Regions from separate parts of the Homo sapiens genome. Here regions 2, 3, 4, 5, 6 and 7 are each linked to region 1. The links are contacts of gene promoters, found by promoter capture Hi-C in blood cells and fetal thymus (Javierre and others, 2016). All regions are on one chromosome and are shown on one strand. Each heading gives the region's core, a stretch centred on a gene start or on the middle of the fragment in contact. The rest is flanking DNA. Distances are from core to core; before and after follow the strand shown.

Region 1 (3,387 bases), core at 369-2,868:
ATGGAAATTTACACGCAAGGACCACCTGTCAAAAAGAAATAGTTCGCAACCTTCAGCAGTTTCGCTTTACTATTTTTTCCAAAGGCGTCTCCAGTGGCGATTAGCTACACTCAGTGTATATAATAAACACACTGTGGCATAATGAAAGGGAAATTACTTGCAATCAGAATGCCTAGGTTCAAATCTGCCTCTTACTACCTGTGTAAAGCTTCGACAAGCTATTAAAATAACGAAGCCTACATTTCCACATCTATAAAAGATAATACCTACCTATTCCACAGGCTTTTTACGAAGATGGAACGCGAATGTACATCAAGTGCCACATGTTATAGTTGAGGTATTTATTAAAGGCAAGACTTCTTTAAAAAAAAATAAGTCGTTATCAACTCATTACATAGATAATATCAAACTTTTTTCACTCATTATTGCACTCCATGACGGCGTTTGATAATTCATTTTCGTTTAAAATCGCCAAAATCGCAACCCATAAGGTTGAAAGACGCTCATACCCCCATAAATATACCTAAAGTAGAAAAGCATTTGCACGATAACCGGAACATCAAAAAAAGCAAAATTTAGTAATTTCCTCTATAAACTCACCACTCATTTAAAAACACAGCTGGTTAAAAATAATCTACTACCTTCAGTGGGTAAGAAAATGCGTTTGAAGAGACATAAGGTGTGGACGTTTATATCTTAAGTATTCATTTTACAAGGGTCAGTTTGTTCAATGTAACCGTATCCAAAACACAAGCAATCGCAAAACAAAACAAACAGAACCCTGCTTATAGGTGTCAAGGATTTAAAACCAAATGGATCGCAACAAAAGAGCCTCCCCGTTTAGTAAACAGATTCTCGAGCGGCAGGCAAGCCGAGGACCAGGCTTTTCAACAGGGGTCAGCTCACTCCACTCGGCCGTCATCTGGCGGGGTATTTTTCGCGAAGTTTCAAAGTCAACAAAGAAGTTCTGTCGCGAGGGGGTAGGGCCTGGCGAGCAATAGGCAGAAGGACGTAAAGAAAGACAAAACCCAGTGGGGGAAGGGTGCGGAAAACGCCCCCGGACGGCAGCGACAGAGGCCCCCTTTTCTGGGCCAGCGCGCGACGGCGGGGACAAGGGAGGCCACGCCGGCCTGCAGTAGCCCCGAGGCCCCGACCCCGGCCCCGGCCCCTGCCCGGCAGGGTCCCCGCCCCCCTCGGCGGCGCGGGCGGGAAACGGCGGGGGGCGCGCAGAGGGTCACCTTCCGCTCCCCGGCCCAGAGGCCCAGCGGGTGGACAAACGGCCCAGGCGTCCGCCCCGCCGCGATCCAGCAGCCCACCTCGAGCGCCGCGGACCTGGCCGGGGTACGAACCCGGGCGCCGACGCAAGGGCTCGGGCGCCGCGCGTCGCCGACTTACCTTCCTCCGCGGTGTCCATCTTGTCTGGGGGGGCGGCGGTGACGCAGCCACGAGGCTCCCGCGGCCGGGCGGGGAAAGAGGGAGGGGAGAGGAGGAGGGAGCCGGGCCCGGGCAGGTGCGTACGCTCAGGTGCGAGAGAGGAAGCGAGAGGAAGGAGAGGGGAGAGGGAGAGGGAGAGAGGCTGACAGAAAGCGAGCGACACGGGAGGGGGAGGGGCGGGAACACCTAGGGGCGAGGCCTGGGCGGGGCGCCGAGGCGGAAGGGGCGGGAGCTCCCCAACGACAGGCGCTGTCACTTCCGGCGGCCGCGGCGTGCACTGTCGGTCGGCGGCTAAGGAGGGGAGGCACCTGCATCTGGGGCGCGGCGAATCCTCGCGTGCGCCAGGCCGCCTGGGGTAGTCGCCGAGACTGCGCCGGCCAGCGGGGCCGAAACCTAATCAGGAGCTGAGCTTTGATGGCGGCTTCTGGAGGGACAAAGAAGGCGCAGAGCGGTGGGAGGAGGCTGCGAGAACCTAGCTCCCGCCCCAGCCGACGTGCGAGACAAAGGCCCCGGCGCGGGGCTCTTCGGAAGGCCGGGAGGTTCCTGTGACAATGCGAGTCTGCGCCCCACGCTCCCGCACCGTGATGCCGAGGCCAAATGGCTAGAGTGGGCCCAGGCATCAGCATTTCTGTTTGGCAGCCGGGCAGTTGTGGTGCACGTTTTGAGGAACTACTAAAGCCTGCCTGTGATGAAAAAGGCAAAAGCTGACTTCACCAAAATTACTCCCAGGGAGACTTCTGCATTTGGCTGGAAGGACATTTGAGTAAACCGCTGAGGCTGGTGGTTGAAACATAATCCTCTAAGGGAGATCGGTTCCGATACCCTGAGTTAGGGACGCTTGCCTGGGCAGAGCTAAGGGGAGAATGATCAAAAGCCAAGCTCTGTCCCCGTCAGCACGTCACCCTCCCTCACTGTAATCCCTGACTGTTTTCTCTAAATGAAGAATTATTTAGAGAATATAAATTAGAAGGGCCGCCACGTCAGAATTGCCTGAGTGGGAGCAGTCTTTCCAGCCTCGAAAAATGTTTAAACAATATGCAGATGACCTAGCACAAATAAAGAATGCTAGCAACCGCTGTTATGTGTGAGCGGTGGAATTGGGAGGGCTCTTCCCCCAATCTTCATCAAACAGAGTAAGGTTTAGAATAAAAATAATGAAATACAGTCTTTCAAAAAGAGCAGCGCTTGACTAATGTTACTGATGTCACTCATGTTACTCAAGGGAGGAAAGAACTCAAACTCTACATAATAATACCCACTGATTTCAAGGGCTGGCACGGAGAATTAAGCAGACCGCCATTCTTTATATTTGTTTTTTTGTTGTTGTTTGCTTATGATTTTTTTCTTTCTTTTTTTTTTTTTTTTTTTGAGAAGGGGTCTCGCACTGTCACCCAGGCAGGAATGCAGTGGCGCGATAATGGCTCACTGCAATCTCACTATATTGACCAGTATGATTTTCAACTCCTGTCTTTAAGCGATCCTCACGCTTCGGCCTCCCAAAGTGCTGGGGTTACAGACATGTGCCACTATGCCCTGCCTAAATATGTTTATATATACTACCGCCAAAGAAACAATTTGAAGACGATCTTTCCCCAGCCCCTCTCCTTCTGATCCAACTCCAAGAGCTCACCCTCCCTGTAAGACCTGTAGCAGAGCACGTATTGGCCTGCTGATACTAGGGGCAAAGACCGGGCCGATCAGATGTTACATGGCATAAGGGCGAAGGATTCTGAAAGAAAGACTGAGACTTGCTGGAGGAAGTACTAGTAGTGCCAAGGGCAGGTATGTGACCCTCGGAGCTGCAGAGCCAGGTTAGGATGAAGGGAATGTGTGTGTATGGGGGGCGTGGAGGAAGCCTTCCTTTTGTATTTAGGTGCCTTCCCTTGTGATGTTCAAAGGAAAGTTAACCTGTCAACCAGTTTTCCCTTCTGCATAGTAATTCCTTCTGGAATT
Region 2 (3,387 bases), core at 409-2,908, 4.9 Mb after region 1:
TATTAACATATACTTCCACTGAAATGGCTAATAGATATGGTCTAGAAACCAAGGAGAACTCAAAATGGAAAGCTGTCTATTCTTTGGAAGTTCAAGGCTGTGCTTTTAATTGATGCATTTAACTGTAAGAAAAATGAACTATATGTTCATTTGTTTCTTTTAATTGGAGAGATGTTTGATGGAATTGTTTGTGACTAACAGTGTGTTATTCAATGATATGACCCCCTGATTATTAGGTATTAATTTCCAGACCTGTGATGTAATGCTACCATATGCCCACAAGATGTCTGTCTTTCCCTGTGTGTTTTCCACATAAATAGAATTTCCGACGGTATTAGGACTTAACCGAACCTTCTTGCTGAGGGGAAAGGCCATCCTCTGGGGCATCCTAGGGTGGAAGGCGTCTTGTGGGAACCACTTTGCTATCCGCCCACACACGTTCCACCAGGCTTAGTCCTAAGCTGTCTTTGCTCCAGTTTTTCTCAACACTCAGGGTTATAGTGGTGGGGTTTCGACTTGTCCTCAGACATCAGCAATTTGCTCACAGCCTCAGCTCTTACCCTCAAAGTGATTTGAAGCCAGAGAGTAAACATGTTGCTTCTTCCTGAAACACTGATGTTACTTAGAAACCGGACAAATAAAATTTAGTTTTGAAACAATTAGTTTGAAATAGAAAGCAAAACTGATATGATTATTAAGCAAAATTTTCTTCAACCTGAGAAAGCTGATTGAGAAAAGTAAAAAAAAAAAAAGCAACATTTGAAAGGACTTTCACAACTCTCACATTGCAGTCGCCCTCTGTAAAGGAGGACAAGCCCACTCTGCCTTGCGGGTTTGTGAACACCTGGCGGCTGTAAGAGTTGGTCACACGAGAAGCTTCTTGTAGCTTCCGGGATCGGAGGAAGAAGGCGGCAGGTGCTCAGAGGTGACAGGTGTTGAGGAGGGGATTCTCTGTAGAGCAGCTGGCAAGGGCATGTCCCACCTAACTCTGAGGAGGGATAGGAAAGGGAGGGACATGTTTCCCCTTCACCTGAGGCCAGTGGGGGGTCTCCTTGGTTTCTAGACCACATCTAGCAGCCATTTCAGTGGATGTATATGTTAATAAATTAAATCAACAGTTGCCTCTCGATGATGCTATATTCCAGAGCTTTGTTTTAATCAGTGCCCCCACGAAGTGAAGCACTCAGAGTCAGATGCTACATGCCCTAGAGTGGTTCCAAGGGAACCGTGGGACAGCTCCAGGAGATGGGTTGGAGGTGACTGAGCCGCATGCTCACCCGCACTGGGATGAGCAGGAGTTCTGCATACTGGATACGGTGGGCATTTCAGTGGGAGCTGCGAGGAAAGCGAGGCTGAGGCAAAGTGAGCAGCCAGAAATAAAACTTTGCTCTTCCATCCCCCATTCAAAGAACTGTAGCTGGATGTCCACAGCTGGAAAGTCCTCACTTTGAACTGTATCCACACAGCACCAGTGGCAGCCACTCACCAAAACTTGTTTCTATTCTGTCTAGTTATTCCCCAGCCTCCCTGCACCTGACATGTGATTAAGTTCTACCAGCCAAACATCAGCAAAAGGGGCCTGGCCCCTAGGGCCTTCCTGTGCTCTTTGTCACTTCCTGCTGACTGGAAGAGGGATGAATCCCAGGACCCTGAGCTGGTGGTTAAGTTACTGTCTCTCGGCCCCACACCTTCCCTTTTATACTCTGCCTTGTGACGTAGGGACTGGGGAGCCACGTGCCACCTCTCCTGCCAGAGTTCTGTTCAGCTGTGCCAACAGATATACACAAGGAAACCAGAAGATAAGAGGTAGGAGAGGGGCCTGTGCCTCCCATTCTGTCCTGTCCGACTCCTGGTCCTGCTAGCGTCTTGCTATCCTTGCTTTCGCACCTGGCAGTGGCAGTTCATGAACAGAGCGGCATACGAATTGGGTCTGCAGTTTCTCTGACACACGCAGAGCCAGCCTCATAGCATCCCCTCGGAGATACCAGCAAAGTTGGTTTCCCAGCTCCACAGAGCCCTGAGTCCAAGAGCAGAGGCCTCAGCACCAGCCCAGAAGGTCCCTTCTTCATATGTCTGAGTGTGATTTCTGGGTGGCAGCTCCTCCACATTTCTGAGTTTTGCTCACTCCTTCCTCCTTCTTTTATTCTCTCCAGCCCAAGGTGTCAGCTGCTTCTTGCGGTGGCTCCTCCTGTGATATTTTAGTGTTTTGCTTTTACCTTTTCTCTCTTAAAATAATCTGGGTGTAATGTGGGTCTCCTGGCTGAGCTCTGCCCCAGTCCTGTGCGGAAGATGCTCTTCCGTCCCAAGGAGCTCGCTGCAGGAGAGAAGCCCACCCCACCAGCCTGTTCTTTGTTCTTGGACTATGACTCAAGCACTTTGGGAAGCCAGGTTACAAAGACTGCATCTTTTTCTCCTGATCCCTTCTCCTACCCCAAGCTTGGAGGGGTCACAAACAAGCTGGTGAATAAGGAAAATGTTGGAACAGAGGAAAAGCCTGTCTTGCCCCATTCCCACCCACCCACACCCATCTTGCTAGCGTCTAAGAACGGCCACCAGCTCCATGGGTAAGAAGCTAAGTTGAAGACAGGAAATAAGTGACAGCACATCACACTGGACTGTGTTGTCTCCGAGTGACTGGAAAGGCTAGGGTGTGTGCCCAAGACTGCATCTGGGGTAAGAAGGAGCCCAGAGGACAAATCCCACAGACAGCAATGATTTAAAAACCAAGACATGGAGGAAGTGACTTTATGATCATCTTCTGCTCAGTACTGCCCTTGCTGAGGCATGTGCAGCCCCTTCTCCTCCTCCTCCTCCTCCCCCTCCTTCCCCCTCCCTCCCCGTCCTCCTTCCCCTCTCCCTCCTCCTCACCCTCCTCCTCCTCTTCCTCTTCATCCTCCTCCTCCTTCTGACTCACCTCCCAATGAATTCCTCAGTTGTTGTGTGTGCCCAGCTCTCATCCTTCACAGTGCACAGCTCCAATCAGCCCCTCTGCAATATTGGGCTTGGCGTGCAAGTGGCACCCCCTTCCATCCTAGGCAGTAAATCCAACCAGTTCTCTAAGGTCCATTCAAGTCCAGTTTCTATGGGAAATGTCCTTGATAGAGTTTTGAATATCAAACTTTTTTGGTTTTTTTTTTTGGTATCATTCTTGGTCCTTCCCTTTTTTTCCTTTGTCTCCTCGCCACATATAAGCAGCATGAGTTCTGTTGGTAAGATAGCTGTCTGCCTGTCCCACCACAGCCATCATGGTCGCTGCCATCCCTGGCAGCCGGTTCTGTCCTGGGTCCTGCGAGGAGCATCTCCCTGCAGCACGATGCCTGCATGTGCCCCTGTTCTCCCACTTGCTAGGACCGAAAACTGAGGAGTTTGTCTGACTCCTCTTTACTC
Region 3 (3,387 bases), core at 473-2,972, 4.8 Mb after region 1:
TCCCCACTACCTCGGTACCAATTTACTGTATTAGTATGTTCTCCTGCTGCTAAGAAGAAATATCTGAGATTGGGCAAGATATAAAGGAAAGAGGTTTAATGGACTCCAGTTCTGCAGAGCTGGAGAAGCCTCAGGAAACTTACAACCTTGGTGGAAGGGGAAACAAATATGTCCTTCTTCACATGGTGGCAGCAAGAAATGCCAAGCAAAAGGGGGAGAAGCTCCTTATAAAACCATCAGATCTCATGAGAACTCACTCACTATCATGAGAATGCATGAGGGTAACTGCCCCCATGATTAAATTACCTCCCACTGGGTGCCTCCCATGACACATGGGGATTATGGGAACTACAATTCAAAGTGAGATTTAGGTGGGGACACAGCACCAAACCACATCAGTTGGCCTTCGAGTTCTTGCTGTCTTGGAAGTTCTCCAAAGTTTTAAACAGATAGATGAGCTTTTTTTTTTTTTCTTTATGTTGTGTTCAGTTTTTCTAATTGTTCCTGGTAGGAAGACTAGTCTTCATTATCTAGTCTCCCATTAGCAGAATTAGAAGTCTCTTCTTAATTGCTTACAGCAATTTTGCAGAGGTTCTCTTATTTGCTTCCAAAGCCCAGCAGTCTGTGGCAAAGATGTAGCAGAAAGACTATCGGAAAAGACATAGGAGAAAAAACTCATTTCACTGGGCAAATGGCAAATGACTTAGTGCATTGTGTTAGTACATTCTCTTAAGAATGTTACTCTTGTGTTAATTTCCTTAACAAACTTTTCTTTGGTTTTGAAACTTCTACCTCTTTCTGGCCAGGTGCTGTGGCTCATGCCTGTAATCCCAGCAGTTTGGGAGGCTGAGGCAGGTGGATCACCTGAGGTCAGGAGTTCGAGACCAGCCTGGCCAACATGGAGAAATCCCATCTTTACTAAAAACACAAAATTAGCCAGACATGGTGGCTCATGCCTGTAATCCCAGCTACTCGGGAGGCTGAGGCAGGAGAATCACTTGAACCCGGGAGGCGGAGGTTGCAGTGAGCCAAGATTGCGCCATTGCACTCCAGCCTGGGCAACAAGAGTGAAACTCCATCTCAAAAAAAAAAAAAAAAAAGAAAGAAATTCTACCCCTTTCTGTCACAGAGGGCCTATAGAGTTAATTTTTTTTTAACTAGGAAATCTCTCTCAGGATACATCCACCAACACATTGTGTTCTTAGAAAATTTCCACTTCTTATGAAAGCATGCCAGGTTACTTAATTATAAGTTTCCAAGTAGTGGTTGGGGCAGAATAAAGGGTTTCAAGATGTACAACCTAACCACAAATGTAATAATGTGTTTTCAGGGGGAAAAAAAAGAATTTTAATTTAAAAAGCAAAATGACAGATTAGAGAAATGTAATCAAGCAAGTCAATCTTACAGACATTTATTTATAATCCATTTCCTCTGGAGATTCAGCTAGGAGCATGAGTAGGAGATGAAACCTTGTTCAGAAGCCACCTGTGCTTGCTCCCTCTGACCCCAGGCTGTGTCTGTGCTCTGGACTCCATCAGTGAGCCTGAGAGGGAAGGTTGGGTCTCAGGGCAAGGAGAAAGGGCAAGAAGGGGAAGCTTTTTGTAAAAAGCAGACAGCGAGGTTGAGGGACTGGCCTCTGTGTGAGTGAACAGAGATGTGCTTGTAGACGTGTGTGGGCAAGGGCGGGGAAGAAGCCAGGGACCCAGTACTTTTTGCAAATACCCTCTGCATAGAGTATTTCAGCTCAATCATATTGAACATCTCTTGGGTCGCCTAAAACATGCTTTCTAAAGCAAATTTACATCCTGTGCCAAATTTAATCTCTTGGTACTGTGTTGAGAAAGCTTCTGAGGCTGAATCAAGGTCCAGGAGAAGGTCACTGTGAAGAATGGGGTCAGCCACAGCCACAGCACAGGGCTTGTGCGTTTGCCACTTCTCTCCTTAGAAGAAGCGTATCATCATAATCATTCCAGAATGTGCTTGGGCATGTCAAAGTACATCGTTACTTTTTCACTTTTTCCCAAAACAACTTCATGATGTAGATAAGACAGGTATTATAAATCCCACTTAACAGGTGAGAAAGCGGCAGCAGGGAATGTAACAGGATTTGTCCACATCATCCACAGGTCCTCAGTAACCGTGTTACAGGAAAGGTTTCTGATCCAGACCCCAAGAGAGGGTTCTTGGATCTCACGCAAGAAAGAATTCAGGGCTATTCCACAGTGCAAAGTCAAAGCAAGTTTATTAGGAAAGTAAAGTGGTGAAAGGACAGCTACTCCATTGAGTAGGATGTTCCTGAAAGTAAGAGGAGGAACACATCCACCCTAGGTACAATGCTTGTATCTATGGGGAGGTGTGCTCTGCTACAAGGATTTGTGATAAAGGATTAATTTTCTTAACTACTGTATTTTGCAAGATTCAATACTCTTATCTTTAAAGCAAAATTAGGAATGCCTTTGATGTCCAGATATCAGGATATCTGGACACTCCCAAGTTTGGGTTTGTTTAGTAAACATTATTAATTTGTCCCCTTAACCTTAAACATCTAGAGCCTCGGAATGCCTAACTTTCTGAGAATGCAGCCTAGCAAGTCTCAGTTTCATTTTCTAGCCCTCACTCAAAATAAAGTCCAGTTTCATTTTCCAGCCCTCACTCAAAATGGAGTCTCAGTTTCATTTTCCAGCCCTCACTCAAAATGGAGTCGCAGTTTCATTTTCCTAGCCCTCACTCAAAATGGAGTCTCAGTTTCCATTTCCTAGCCCTCACCCAAAATGGAGTCACTCTGGTTCTAACACCTATGACAACCGCTGCTGCGATTCCTGCTCAACTTTCCAACGGTTGGAAGAAGGACAAGTCGGTGCCCAGTAATCAGAGAATCATGTTAAACAAATGAACTAGACAAAAATATTTATAGCATTGCTCTCAAAAAAACACAATGAATGCTCCCAACAGAAATGATCCTGTCCACTCATGATAAAAAATTAAACATGTCATTCAGAATATTTTATAAAACATAAGTAAAAGATAAAGTTATGAATGGTTATGAATATAGATTAACTTAATATTAGAAGTGGACTTAACATAAGTAGTTAATGTTGCAAGCATATGAAGAAATAAAAGATGCCATCATCATTGAAAACTTTAGCTGCTAATCATTGTGCCTATCGAAAAAGAAGGCAGGAAAAAGGGAGTTTAATTCAGTTAAACAAACATTTGCTTGAGCCCTATACTAACTGTATAGAATATCATTTAAGCATATTTGAGCTAGCACATAATGAGTTAGATAAGTGGACAAAAACAATAATCCAAGACAGGATAAGATACACACTATTGGAAAGACTCAAAGAAAATATTGAAACTGCCTTTCCAAAATTAGAATCAGCAAGA
Region 4 (3,387 bases), core at 664-3,163, 4.0 Mb after region 1:
TGAGCATGAAGAGGAAATTTGGAAGAGAGGCTGGGAAAACAAGGGATACACTGGTGGAATATTTATTTCTAGCTTTATTTATAGCATCCTTTGCTCAGAATCAGGAATCAGCAAAGCAGCAGAGAGGTGGGGCTGCCCCTTGAGTACCGGTTGTAGCTGGGGCTTCTCTGGTGCTCAGGCGGTCACATGTCCCTTGGTTTTCCTTCATGGCCCTGCCCTCTTCTGCTTGGCACTGGGTCTGCTTGCCTCTCCTTCTGCAGTTGGCTCCTTGGGGTTTTGTGACCACGTTACATTCTACAAAGCCATTTACTGCCCAACAATTAAGGCAGTCATGTAGGAGGAAGGCTGACTGCTAGGATCCCTCTTTCAGTAGGAGGAAGGCTGACTGCTAGGATCCCTCTTTCAGGGGGCTTTTCTGCCTTTGCATTTCTGTTGGGGAATAGTGTTTCCACTTGGGCTTGTGCTAGGATTTTTCATGATGGATTAAAAAGCGTCTCTGTTTTTCCACTATCGTTGAAGTTTTCCAGGTTTTTTTAGGAGTGAGCCATCTTATACAGGATAATAATGTCCATCATACCTTAAAATTTTGAAAATAATTTTACGTAACTTCTCTCCCTTAATTTAAATATGCACCAAAAATAATTATAAACGTATATTTACACATATGTGTTGTATTTATTTTAACTGTGATTGTCCTTTACTGTTTCATGTAGGTTTGCTGCAAATTAGGAAAGGTTCAGCTAAGAATGAGATGCAAAGATAGAAATTAATTTTTCTCCTGCAACAGCAATGCTAAGCTGTCTGCCCAGACAGCAGTAGCTCCTCACAGGCATCAGCCAGGACCCAGGCTCACCTGTCTGCTCTGCCATCCTCAGCATGGGTTCTGTCCTCACATTACAAGATGGCTGCTGCACCTCCAGGCATCACGTTTGCATTCCAGGCAGGAATAACATAGAGGGAGGGCAAAGGCCGACGGGCAAAAAGATTTCTCCTGTGGAAGCTTTGCCATTTTATTCTGGAAGGGCTGTCTTTCTCATGGACTTCTGCTCACATCTCATGGACAAGAACACTGTCGCATGGCCCCCCGCCCCCGATTACGAGGGAGTCGAGTGATCTTAGGTTTAGCTCTTACAGTCCTTAGAACAGAGGCAGGCAGGGGCAGAGAACAGAGGCAGGCAGGGGCAGAGAACTGAGGCAGGCAGGGGCAGAGAACAGAGGCAGGCAGGGGCAGAGAACTGAGGCAGGCAGGGGCAGAGAACAGAGGCAGGCAGGGGCAGAGAACTGAGGCAGGCAGGGGCAGAGGGGACTGACAAGGAATGGGAGCTCTCAGGCAGCCGGCGGGGCCTGCTCTGGCACCTTCAGGATGAGGATGGCCTGGATTTCCATTCACTGGGTGCTCATGTTGGCCCTTTCCTGTAGAAACTTACTTTGTAGGAGTGACTTAAGGCTAAAAATTGAATTTCATGTAAGTAAATTTAAACCCCGGATGCGTCATTGTGAGTTTTCAAGTTTAGTTTATCTGATGAGCGCAAGGCCCAGCACTGCGCCTCAGTCTAGACAGAGTTTGGAATAAGAAGCAGCAGCCATCCACGCGGGGCTGTCTGCAGGCTCCCTCTGGGAGTGCTGAGGAATGGCATGGTTGGTGACAGTGCTCACCAGAGGTTGCGTCCGGGAGCTGCAGAGGAGCTGCTTTGTCCGTCCATGGCCCTGCCCACATCCACGGCTGCTGCCTCCCTGGCTGGCCTCACCTTCGCCTCTGCCTAGAGTAGTCTCAAGTCAGGGCATAGATGCTGGCGGGACCGAGGTAAATAATCCGACTGGAAAAGCAAGCAGGAGTCTTCCCGATTCTCCAGGTGGGAGGATTCCCGAGTCTCAAGCTGGAGTCCTGGGAGGCACAGCCACTGTGAGGTGCCACCTGCAGCCGCAGGCAGATGGGTCAGGGAAGCAGGGCCTCCTCTGCCTGCAGTGGCTGCAGGACTCGTAGGCGTCACCCTCTTTAACGCATCACAGCTAGTTTATTTTCACCTTTTCATGGGCCATCATCTGTTCCTAACCTCCTGTTCCTCTTCTCAAGGTTGGGGGAGGTGGCTCGATGCAAAGACGGCCCCAGGGCCTGCCACATCCTGCCTCCTCCTTCCAGCTCTCTCCCCTCTCCTTCCTGCCCAGCCTTCCTCTTGAAAACGCCCTGAGCCCTTTTCCTGTGCCTTTCTCAGCCACCTGCCTGCAGAGGGGCTGCTGATGAGGAAGAGATGGTCCCTTCCCTGCCTGCGCTCCCGTGCTCACTCTGCGTGTCCACCCCATCAACCCTCCAGGGACGCTTCTTTTTCTCCCAAGATATGTTAGGGGAAGAGGCACGTATTTTAAGGTGCCCTCTGGGCAGTCTCTTTGTGCCCCAGCATTTATTAATTTGCAGCCACATGCAGCCTGGAGTGTCAGAGTCCCAAAGGGATGTTAATACAGTCGTCCACTGATTTAATCAAAAGCAGCAGCTGGGGCCCGGGGTGCGGTCGAGTTATGAAATTAAGACACAGTGCAACACACAGGAGGGCCTTTTATGCAAACTGTTGGTCTGACCACTTAAAAGTTTGGGATGTGAGTGAAAATTGAATGTTCATCCTCAGATGTGTAGCATGCTCCACTGTGAAACTAATTGCATTTCAGTAGCACGTGGAGGCCATTATCATTGCTATTATTAATAACCATTTATTAACTGTGCACAGTGTGAAACCAGAGAGCTTACTCAGCACAGAGCCCTCCATTACAGAAACTGGGCATACACAGGATCGATTTGGACCTGTTTTTTATTGCTGCTCTTGTTAAGCTTAAATAGTCTTTTGTTTGTACAAATGTTATTTTTGTGCAGCGAGCAAAAGCAGATAGCGTACTTAACACTGCTGTTTCGCACACTTGTTTTTCATGGTGAAAAATGTGAATGGTGCAGAGCTTCCAGACCCAGCCTCAGTGTTTTTAACCATGGACATCCTCCCAGGCAGACCAGATGCCCTCTACGCGTAATATTCAGGTTTGTGCTTAGAAAAATACATAGAGGATCGCATTATACACACCCTTCAGGGTTTTGCTTTTTTCGTTTGAAATACCTTTGCAAATCTTTGTCAGCAGGGGCAGGCTGGCAGGCCCGTCGGTGGTGCCCATGGCATGGAGGAGCCGCAATGTGCTTAGACTCTAGGATGCCAGCAGTGCCATGGGGTATGCCATTGTTCATTGTCCTGGACTGGCATCTGTGGAGTCCCTTGGGATTAATTTCTTAAGATGGAATTATGTGTACTTAAATGTTGCTAATTATTACCAAACTGTGACCCAAAAAAGTGTCACCAATCAGCCCTCCCAGAAATGGCACGGGGAAGTGTCTGCTTTGGTTCATCATGT
Region 5 (3,387 bases), core at 437-2,936, 4.0 Mb after region 1:
ACAGTGTAAGGTGACATCTCATTATGCTTTTAATTTGTATTTCCCTGATGATATGTGATGCTGAGCATTTTTGCTGGTCATTTTTATGTCTTCTTTTGAGAAGTATCTGTTCAGGTCCTTTGCCCATTTATAAATTTCTTCTTTTGCTTTTTTGCTGTTGAGTCGTGTGCCTTTAATTTTTGCACTTTACGTTGTGAGTTTTATTTTCCATGCTTGTTCTTTGCTTCTTTATTCTCTTCTTTTCTTGCCTTCTATTGAGTTGATTGTGTTTTCTTTATTCCCTTCCCCCTGTCTACTAGTTTGGGAATTATATATACTAGCAAAGAGATACCCTTAAATTTTTAAAATAAATACTTACCAAAGCCTAAGTTCCATCAATTATCTATCTTTCTTACTTATGAAATTGAGAAAGGCCGTTCACTCCATGTCGCTACCTCTACCTAATAACTTAAAATTTTTTATTTGTCTAATATTTTATTTCCACCTTTTTTTTTTTTTTTTGAGTCTTGCTCTGTTGCCCAGGCTGGAGTGCAGTGGCATGATCTCGGCTTACTGCAACCTCTGCCTCCTGGGTTCAAGCAATTCTCCTGTCTCAGCCTCCCAAGTAGCTGGGACTACAGGCGCACACCACCATGTCTGACTAATTTTTGTATTTTTAGTAGAGACAGGGTTTCTCCATATTGGTCAGGTCGGTCTCGAACTCCTCACCTCAGGTAATCCACCTGCCTTGGCCTTCCAAAGTTCTGGGATTACAGGCCTGAGCCACCACGCCCAGCCTCCATCTTGTTTTATAATTCCCTAAAGTTAATTGTTGTTAAATCAGGAGAGAAGTATTTTATGTAACATTTCTGTTTATCAGCCCAGCCCACCAACTGGAGTGCCCTGATTCCATAAGTTTGGCAAGTCACTTACCTTCTCTGGCTTTCCATTTCTGGTCACAGCTGGGAGAGGCTCTGAAGATCATCTAGCAAAGGAGCTCCCTCACTTTGCCTGTTTCTAGGCACTGAAAAGTACAGGCCACAAATATATTCAGTAAAATAAATCACTTGAGAAATTCAAACAGGCTAGAGGAGATATCCGCTATCATAGGAGATCGGGCAGAAAAGTTTCTTAAACATAAGAGTGAAATGACCTAAACTGAATTTCAATGAGATAAACAGCAGTTTACTAAGACAGGGCAACCCCACAGGGTGCTGTTTGGTCAGAATTGGCCCGAGGAGGTGAGACCCTGACCTACGAAGGCAGCAGGTGTCCGGGAAGCATGGTTAGCAGCAAGAGCTAGGGGAGGTGGCCGCCGATTACATAGAAGAAAGGAGGCAGGCAGGCGCTGATCCCAGGGGTTCTGGTAGAGGGGCAGGGAAACTACCGTTATTGGTCCTTCATGCAAACTTTAGGATTTTCATCCATGTGTGTATTGCTTGAAGATGCTGCATTGCAGAAAGTCTTCAACTTCTCCCATGACCGAGGCAGGTCTGATGAGAGTGCAAACAGTTAGTACTCGCCCAGCTGCGCGCCGAGGCCTCCTCCAGAATCCAGACCGCATCCCCGAAAGCCCGCCCTGCCCCGCACTTAGGCCCCGCCCCAACACGCCCGTCCCGATAACGAGGCTCCGCCCCCAAGAGCTCGCCCGCGCTCCCCCAGAGGAAACGGAAGTCGTATCTGTCCGGACGGAAGCAGGAAGCGGGAGCGTAGGGCCACGCCTGCGGCGCTGCTGGTTGAGGCTGTGTGGGTCGGGGACGGGCCGAGGCGATGGCGGAGAAGTTTGACCACCTAGAGGAGCACCTGGAGAAGTTCGTGGAGAACATTCGGCAGCTCGGCATCATCGTCAGTGACTTCCAGCCCAGCAGCCAGGCCGGGCTCAACCAAAAGCTGTGAGTGGCGGCCCGAGGCTGCCGGGGTCTCCCCAGGGCCTGGCCGGGAAGCGTGTGCTAGGGGAGCGGGGATCTAGGGAGCCCGAGCCGAGCCTGACCGCTACTCGTGCCCCGCCAGCCCTCTGGTCTGGTCCCGGAGCCCGGGGCGCCTTTCCTGGCTGTGTTCAGAGGGCGGGGCCCGCGCTCCAGCCTGTTGCCAAGAGCCAACCTCTTTGAGGCCCCTTTGGAGACGTCGTCATGGCCAGATGATATACTTTACGTTTCCCTATCAAGGGAATCATGCTTTCTCTTCTAGCGTCTCCCCTCTCATGTGTAACCCCCTCCCAGCCTTTTCCTCCTGGAGCCCTTCTGGGAATTCAGTCCCTGTCTCCAGAGGGGAGGCAGGCTCCACAGTGAGTGCACGCCCTAAACTAGGCCTCAGAAGGTGAGGCTCCGAAGCCACCTGCCGCATAGGCCTGACAGTGGAGGAAATAGCGGGGAGGTGGTGCTGAGAAAGGTTGCAGAACGTTTATTATTATTATTTCTTGGCAACAGCCTTGTGCTGCCCATGTTGCTAGGCCCTGGGTTGGAGAAAAGGCAAATGCAAGTACAGCACTTTCGAGAAGGGCTTTATATGTGGCACGGACATAGAAAATGTTGCACTCGAGGTTCCATACCTAGTGCTGTGGGAATAGCCAGACCAGCCTGATGCTGTAGGAAGGCTCCAGAGAGGAGAGGAAGCTAAACCAGACAGTATGGCTTTCTTTCCCTCAGACTTTGAGTATAGTCCGCTGCCTCATGTGTTCGCTGAAACCGCACACACAGTCATATGCACAGTCAGGTAATTGTTTTTGAGAGAAGGTTCATATTTTTCATCAGGTTCCCTCTCCATCCCCCTTACTGGCAATTTCTAGTTGAGAAGGAAAGTAACAAATATTTAAGGGTATTTTGTAACTCTAACGGTGTCCTAGGAATCCTGTAGCTAACCAAAGAGGTCAGAACCGTGTGTAACCCGCATAGCTGTGAGGAGAACGAACTTGCGTGGAGCCCCGGTTGGCTGGGTAGCTCTGTGGGTGGTGCTTATGCTGTCAAGCGAAATTAACCAGATGCCTGTGTGTTTGCCTTTCCCCCAGGAATTTTATTGTTACTGGCTTACAGGATATTGACAAGTGCAGACAGCAGCTTCATGATATTACTGTACCGTTAGAAGTTTTTGAGTAAGTAACATTCTTGATATTAGTCTTGGGTATAAATCTTGTTCAGTTATGGTGTGGTATCGTGACTTCTTCATCACTGGCATTCGAGTGCCTGCTGTGTGGTAGGCACAGCCTGGGTGCTGGGGATGTGCCAGTGGAAAAAAAAATAGACAAAAATACAAAAATACCTGCCCTTATGGAACTTCCGTTCTAATGGCATTACAAAACGAAAAAAAAGAATATCCTTAATATTCTATTGTGGAAAAAAAGTTACATGTAAATAAAAGCTTATTAAATATATGAAATACATCATAGGTCCTCAAAGCCCTGCTTAGGCTAAA
Region 6 (3,387 bases), core at 512-3,011, 3.7 Mb after region 1:
ATATAGCAACTAGAAACGTGGGGGCGGGCAGCTTGTTACCAGTGTCATGCCTGTTTGTTTTGATGAAACCATTTTTTCTTAATATAATTAGTCCTTTTTTTCTTCTTTTCACTTTGGATAGAGAGTGATATGTACGTATCTTAGTTTCTTTTTTTTTTTTTTTTCTTTTTTGTCCTACTTAATTTTTATGGTTTAGAAAATTTTCTCCCCTTTAGTTTTACTGATTTGTTTACCATATGGATTGTCTTCAGTGATGGTGATTGGCTAAATTAGGTTGAAAATGATAGTGAACATGTATTGAGAGCTCATTGTATGGCAAGCATTACTCTGTGCTCTTTTTTCTTTTCTTTTTTTTTTTTTTGAGATGGAGTTTCACTCTTGTTGTCCAGGCTGGAGTGCAGTGGCGCGATCTTGGCTCACTGCAACCTCCGCCTCCTGAGTTCAGGCAATTCTCCTGCCTCAGTCTCCCAAGTAGCCGGGATTACAGGTGCGCACCACCACACCCTGCTAATTTTGTATTTTTAGTAGAGACGGGGTTTCTCCATGTTGGTCAGGCTGGTCTCGAACTCCCGACCTCAGGCGATCCGCCTGCCTTGGCCTTCCAAAGTGCTGGGATTACAGGTGTGAGCCACTGTGCCTGGCCTTGCTCTGTGTTTTTTAGGTGAATTAGTTGGCTTTATCATTCACACAACCCTCTAAGGGCAGATACTGTCACCATCTCCATTTTTCCAGATGAGGAAAAGGAAGCAAGGAGAAGTACTTGAACTGAGGTTACGGAGCTGTTAACTGGCTGAGCTGAGATTTGAGTCTAGGTAGCTCTGTTCCTTAGCATTATGTTTTCATGATTCTTACTTGTTCATCTCTATATTTAGTCTCTCTGGCTTACAGTTTCATTCTCCTCCCATCCTCTTTGGAGACTGTACCTATATCATTCTGTGATTTTGGGGCAGTGTAGAATCCCTAAAAGTAAATTATGTCATGCTATAGACTCTGTAAAGAAGTATATTTAGATCTTGGACTAGAAATTGAAAAACTAGAATTGCTTTAAATTAAATGTAGAATATTTGGTTTTTTAAAAACATGAAACAGTTTCTTGCTTTGTTAATAGATCTTAGATATGTGTGCAGCACCTGGCTCAAAGACCACACAGTTAATTGAAATGCTACATGCCGACATGAATGTCCCCTTTCCAGGTATGCATTGGACTTGTGTTCAAAATGGTAGGAATGCCACTTTGGCAGATTGTAGACAAGGAAAAGACTCTAACTTTGCCTGCTAATTTGGCTCTAAAGTCTCCTATGACAAGCAGTTGGGTTTTCCGTCTACCGGAAGTAGAACTGGACATCTTGCCTACCACCGTCAGTAGTACTCAAACAAACACACTCATACCATGGGGGAGCTTTATTTTAGAATTATGTGTGTTTTCTATAAAAACGAATGGCATTTCTTTTTTTTTTTTTTGAGATGGAGTCTCACTCTGTTGCCCAGGCTGGAGTGCAGTGGCGTGATGTTGGCTCACTGCAAGTTCCACCTCCTGGGTTCACGCCATTCTCCTGCCTCAGCCTCTCGAGTAGCTGGGACTACAGGTGCCCGCCACCATGCCCGGGTAATTTTTTGTATTTTTAGTAGAGACGGGGTTTCACCATGTTAGCCAGGATGGTCTCGATCTCCTGACCTCGTGATCCGCCCGCCTTGGCCTCCCAAAGTGCTGGGATTACAGGTGTGAGCCACCACGCCCGGCTGCAGATGGTGTTTCTTTATCAAGCCTACTTACAGAAGATAGATTTCACTGTTTGAATTTTTAGTAACAATTTCCCCTTTCCCCCACCTTTGTTCATTATTATTACTATTATTATTATTATTATTACTTACTGCCTTACATGAAGGGTAGTAGTGTGTAGTTAAAAGCTACCATCAGACTCCCTGGGTTCAAATCCTAATCGGCAAGTTACTTACAGTGTTAGACATCCCATGTGAAATGGGACGAATCAGTATGTAGCTTGCGAGGTGCTCAGGAAATGTTAGCTGTTATAGTGACACCACGCCCCTTTCTCTTAAGTGGAAACAAATACCCATCGTGATGTTTTAGAGTCAGCTTTCATCTCGTCCTATCTTTGTTCAGGCAAACTTCTCTAGTTCTGTTTTAATAGGCATATTTGTTAGGTCTGTTTTTTGAAATCCTCTTTTTTACATTGTTTAAAGATAATGCCTTGGCTAAAAAGCCTGCTTCACTTTTCCCTGTTTTTAGTTGTTTTCTCCACATTGGCAGTAAAGAGCCTTGGCGTCCCAGTAGCAGCAGGTTCTCCTTTTTGTATTGTGGATGTTTTGCATTTCATACTGTTGTGAAGAGTGGCTTTGATCATACATGTTGTTGGTATATTTGCCTTTTTGCTGGGGGTGTGAGAAGAACCAGAGATGAGCAGAGGTACACCCAGTAGACTTCCCAGCCTGCAGAGCCTCCCGGGAAGAGCTTCCGTGTTCAGGTGCTTGGGGCCCCACCCTAGGAGCCTGACTCACAGTCAGAGCAGGGTCCCGGCTTGTGTTCAGGATTTTGAAACATTTGTAAGGTGATTTTGTTGTTTCTACACCTTTCTCCTCATCTTTTTTTTTTGTAGTTAATCGTTACTAATAACAGAAAAGACATTTTTGGCATGGTAATTGGCACAAAGTGAATAATTGTTGAATAGATGACTTTTGAGGCTTTCAAAATTCGAGTGTCCATAAAATCCATCCAGAGCCACCTGGTTCCTTTTTTTGAACCACTTAACGTAATTCTGGAAAACCTTGACTGTGGGTCTTAAGTTTGGTGGATTGCTGCTTCTCACTGGCTGACCTTTGGAGGTCGCATATTTCAGGATGTGATTCCACTTAGGCTCCATTTCACCTGACACTGCAATTCTGTGCCTTCAGAGGGATTTGTTATTGCGAATGATGTGGACAACAAGCGCTGCTACCTGCTCGTCCATCAAGCCAAGAGGCTGAGCAGCCCCTGCATCATGGTGGTCAACCATGATGCCTCCAGCATACCCAGGCTCCAGATAGATGTGGACGGCAGGAAAGAGATCCTCTTCTATGATCGAATTTTATGTGATGTCCCTTGCAGGTATTTATCTTATTGGCCAAAAAGCCCAAATCCACTAAAGAAATCAAGTCAAATAGAGACTAAAATGAAGTTGTGCATGAATATGACACAATTGTACATAAGTCTTGGGGTGCGGAGAAAGATAGCGTGAGCCTAAACCAAAAGATGGACACGTAGATACGTCTTAATGAGAAGCAGCACAGCAGATGCTGGATAAAGAACAGAAAGGGGTGGTTGCAATAGCCTGCAGAAAGATAAAGAGAAAACAAAACAAAACAGAGAAAATACGTAAGAGGAAAATAGAA
Region 7 (3,387 bases), core at 360-2,859, 3.7 Mb after region 1:
AAGTGTTCAAATTCTAAGTTTGAGGAAATACAGAAAAAAAGAGCAAGACATAAAAGGGGAATGTAAGGCCTGGATTTGGTTTAGCAAGATGTCTATTAAAATAGAAAGGACTCAGTTCATAAGAGGTCGGGCCTCTGGACCTGAAAAAAATCCATCCTAAATTCAATACTGGATAACAGGAAGGCAAGGTGAAAAAGAGGAAGGGAAAATATTAGCAAGGTTGAAATACACAGAATTGAAAATGGCTTAAGACACTTCTGCATTGGATGTCACCCATTTAAACAATGGACAAATGCAGTGTGAGAGAAGCAACTCCCAGGAAACATTCTGCGTATGTGGTGGACGTTCCCTCTGGCATATCAGAATCACATCCAGCGAACCTTGATCCATTTCTCCCAATTTTCTTCTAAGTTGTGGGTTGAATTCTGACCTGAAAAACGTCAGCTGGCAATGACACTAGAACTGTGTCAAAAGAATATAATAGAGGATAATATTATCAGACTCTGCACTCACCAGCCTATTCCCAACTCACAGAAAAGCACTGGTCAGAAAAACTAGAACATTTAAGGCACAGAGGCCAAGGCAGCAGGATTTCTTCACAAAACAAAGGAAAATGAGGCTGCAACCAAAGTAGGTTATCGGGCGGCTCATTGGTTAGTGAAGCAAGGAAAGCTGTGCATCAACGGTGAGTTAATCAACAGCAGCAACCAAAGAGGCGTGTCCAGAGAATACACACTTGTTTCTCACAATTAGCCTTTTGGGGAGAACACTTGCTAGAGGAGTTAAGGACACTGGGAGCACCCTCAACAGTCTATTTAAGCAAGGCAGGACCAGATGCAGTGGCTCATGCCTGTAATCCCAGCACTTCGGGAGGCCAAGGCAGGTAGATGGCTGTGACTAGCCTGGGCAACATGGCGAAACCCCCTCTCTACAAAAAATATGAAAATTAGCTGGGTGTGGTGGTACATGCCTGTAGTCCCAGCTACTTGGGAGACTGAGGTGGGAGGATCATCAGAGCCTGGGAGGTGGAGGCTGCAATAAGCTGAGGATCATGCCACTGCACTCCAGCTTGGGTGACAGAGTGAGATCCTGTCTCAAAATAATAATTAAAAAAGAAAAAGCAAGGCAGATGATGAGCAGTCTTTGTCGGCTCTGGGTGAGTCTATGGATGTTACTGATATGGCTCAGTTGTTTATTTGAGGAGTTCACATCAAGGCTGAAGTGAATGAAGGGTTAGGCTCTTTAGATAGTCTGTGCAGAACAACTACCGGTGAGAATATTTTCAAAGATGTTGAGAAAACACGAATTTAGTAGAATCCAAAGTGGAATCTGCTAAGCTGTTGCAAATGATGGTGATAAAAATGTATGGGACAAAAAAAAAACAAATTACAAACTTACAAACTTGTAAAAATGTAAGGTGTTTCATGCTATTCCTTGTATCAGCAGGTCTTTTGCAGAAAATCTGTTGTGTGTGATTAAGCCCATAGTGTCAACAGTGAATGACAATCCCTCTCATGGACTCAACTATCATCAGTTCTCTAACTTTTTGTCACAAATAAGCTGACTATGCCGATTTGTCCCACATAAATACACCAGTTTGATGGCTTAATAAAGTTTCATCACATTATTTTGAGCTCAGAGCTGAGACTGAAACTTTTCTGAGCAAGAACTGCCCTCACCACCATTATTGAGTTCTGAAGGGCTTAAGTAGCTTTTACTGCAGACTTGATAATAAATTCAACCTAAAGCTGCAAGGCAAAACAGCACTTGTGCAAAACTCATACTGTGTTAAAGTCATTTTGATGACAACTGCCATTGTTCCAATCACAAGTCATATCAAACTGCGTTCTGTACTTTCCATGCTATTAAAATTAAAAGAAGTGAGCTCTCCATGCTCACATGAGTTTGCAGTGGATATAAATTCTAAGTTTAAATACAGTGTGTGAACCTGGATTTCCATATTTCAAAATCCATTTAGCTGTGCAGTGGAAGAGTTGCCATCTAATCTTCCATAGGAAGATATGAATCTGTAATGTAATACCATATGGAAAGGCAAAGATCAAGAGAAGAATCTAACAGGATTCCATGAGTGCCTTCCAAGTGATGATCATGCTCAATTAAAATCATATACATGTGGACTGATGTCAACGCTTCCATTTATAGAGATAAAATACGTAAAATCTCATGACAGATCAACACTGAGAGGAACATTTACAATAGATGTTGATAATAGGAAACACTAACTTTGAATCCCAATAAGTGAAATGTTATCCCTCACCAAGAAAAGAATTCTATTCTTCTCATTAGACATATATTACAAAAAATGCACTAAGATAATATATTTTGAATTTACCACTGAAACTTTTGTGAAAATGTGTTTTCTCTCATCGTAAATACCTACCCAGTATCTTGGCCCACAAAGCCTAAGATATGCACTACCTGGCTCTTTCCAGAAAAGCCTGCTGACAATTAGTCTGAATTAGCACAAGTGTGTTATATTTTGGAGACATCAACTTGACATCAACTTGCTCAGGGCACTGGTGCTACATGGCTGCAGCTGCTGCGGTCTAGGTTTGGCTGTGCTCTGGGAGTGAGGACGTGCTTCTGCGTAGCTGCATTTTTGAATGACTTCTGCTCTAGCACATGCCCTGGATAAGACATTCACAAAGAACCTCAGGATAAGATTTGTCCCTCTTTTTTGTCTCATGTGAATGTCTGAGAACTGCAAGGACTGGAAACCGAGCCTTACAAAGATCGACACCAGTCTCTTCTGGTGTTCTCTGATTCCTGCCCTGGAAGGGGACACCAGTAACCCTGATGCCTATAGGCCTGTCATAAAACCGCTGAAGTCAACAGAGTGGTGGACAGGGGAGAGGAGGGGAGTGCTGCCTCTGCCTCCAGTTGCTAGGAGAAGGTGAGATCTTCTTCCTGACTTCCCTCCCTCTAGAGAGCTCTGACTTGGACCTAGCACTCCGCTCCAAGGAAGCGCTCTGCCCCTCTCAGCATCTCCTGGAAGGCTTTTCTTCTTGCGGGCCATTCCCTTTAGCTTTACTCAGTTTACTTCCTTGGAAATCCATTGTTGTCGGTGAAGATTTTCCTTTGACTGTGGCCAATTTGGAACTCGCGTGGGGTGGGGTCGGGAAGAAGGTGTCTGGGCATGGCTTTTACCTGAGTCTTTGTTTAGACTCTAGAGGGACGACAGCACTTGAGAGAGTGCAGCGGACCCCAGGCATAAATGACAGGGTCCTACTTAGGGCCATGGGGCCAATTTCAGATAGCAAGGAAGGTGGGTGCACCTGCCTGGACATAAATTACTCATGGAACTCACAGCACATCAGTCTGCGGCCCAGACTACCCCAGTTAGGACAGGCATGGGCACTCACAGCC

The links. Contacts are between HindIII fragments. The CHiCAGO score rates a contact against its expected background, and 5 or more counts as called.
Region 2: a fragment that was not itself captured here is called in contact with the fragment with the promoter of MARCHF6 in region 1 in 2 of 17 cell types (naive CD8 T cells and non-activated CD4 T cells); the score reaches 14.0 in naive CD8 T cells.
Region 3: a fragment that was not itself captured here is called in contact with the fragment with the promoter of MARCHF6 in region 1 in 2 of 17 cell types (total CD4 T cells and total CD8 T cells); the score reaches 10.1 in total CD4 T cells.
Region 4: a fragment that was not itself captured here is called in contact with the fragment with the promoter of MARCHF6 in region 1 in 1 of 17 cell types (non-activated CD4 T cells); the score reaches 5.3 in non-activated CD4 T cells.
Region 5: the fragment with the promoter of MED10 here is called in contact with the fragment with the promoter of MARCHF6 in region 1 in 4 of 17 cell types (non-activated CD4 T cells, activated CD4 T cells, naive CD4 T cells and 1 more); the score reaches 9.6 in non-activated CD4 T cells.
Region 6: a contact is called between a fragment that was not itself captured here and the fragment with the promoter of MARCHF6 in region 1, in 1 of 17 cell types (naive CD8 T cells). The highest score is 8.6, in naive CD8 T cells.
Region 7: a contact is called between a fragment that was not itself captured here and the fragment with the promoter of MARCHF6 in region 1, in 1 of 17 cell types (non-activated CD4 T cells). The highest score is 5.5, in non-activated CD4 T cells.

The regions. Positions count from the first base shown.
Region 1 is chr5:10,351,926-10,355,312 of GRCh38, reverse strand. MARCHF6 (membrane associated ring-CH-type finger 6) reads right to left here and starts at 1,618. Exons shown (of 26, transcript NM_005885.4): 1 at 1,396-1,618. The coding sequence starts at 1,414. MARCHF6-DT (MARCHF6 divergent transcript) reads left to right here and starts at 1,256. Exons shown (of 3, transcript NR_183261.1): 1 at 1,256-1,341. RefSeq lists enhancers at 382-953, 1,800-2,059 and silencers at 1,010-1,479, 1,520-1,659. The HindIII fragment of the contact is 4,878 bases long and covers 211-3,387 here.
Region 2 is chr5:5,416,444-5,419,830 of GRCh38, reverse strand. The region is part of intron 2 of LOC101929200 (a long non-coding RNA gene); the gene reads left to right. Among named protein-coding and RNA genes, the nearest start is that of ICE1, 4.5 kb to the left of the region's middle. RefSeq lists an enhancer at 479-548. The HindIII fragment of the contact is 1,560 bases long and covers 879-2,438 here.
Region 3 is chr5:5,522,653-5,526,039 of GRCh38, reverse strand. No RefSeq gene overlaps it. Among named protein-coding and RNA genes, the nearest start is that of ICE1, 100 kb to the right of the region's middle. RefSeq lists an enhancer at 2,532-2,811. The HindIII fragment of the contact is 249 bases long and covers 1,598-1,846 here.
Region 4 is chr5:6,358,833-6,362,219 of GRCh38, reverse strand. No RefSeq gene overlaps it. Among named protein-coding and RNA genes, the nearest start is that of MED10, 18 kb to the left of the region's middle. The HindIII fragment of the contact is 1,821 bases long and covers 1,003-2,823 here.
Region 5 is chr5:6,376,846-6,380,232 of GRCh38, reverse strand. MED10 (mediator complex subunit 10) reads left to right here and starts at 1,686. Exons shown (of 4, transcript NM_032286.3): 1 at 1,686-1,871; 2 at 2,984-3,067. The coding sequence starts at 1,750. RefSeq lists enhancers at 1,232-1,451, 1,742-1,951. The HindIII fragment of the contact is 6,030 bases long and covers 1-3,335 here.
Region 6 is chr5:6,619,822-6,623,208 of GRCh38, reverse strand. NSUN2 (NOP2/Sun RNA methyltransferase 2) reads left to right here. Exons shown (of 19, transcript NM_017755.6): 6 at 1,109-1,193; 7 at 2,911-3,103. Among named protein-coding and RNA genes, the nearest start is that of NSUN2, 12 kb to the left of the region's middle. The HindIII fragment of the contact is 4,178 bases long and covers 1-3,387 here.
Region 7 is chr5:6,641,031-6,644,417 of GRCh38, reverse strand. The region is part of intron 1 of SRD5A1 (steroid 5 alpha-reductase 1); the gene reads right to left. Among named protein-coding and RNA genes, the nearest start is that of SRD5A1, 9.3 kb to the right of the region's middle. The HindIII fragment of the contact is 4,943 bases long and covers 1-3,387 here.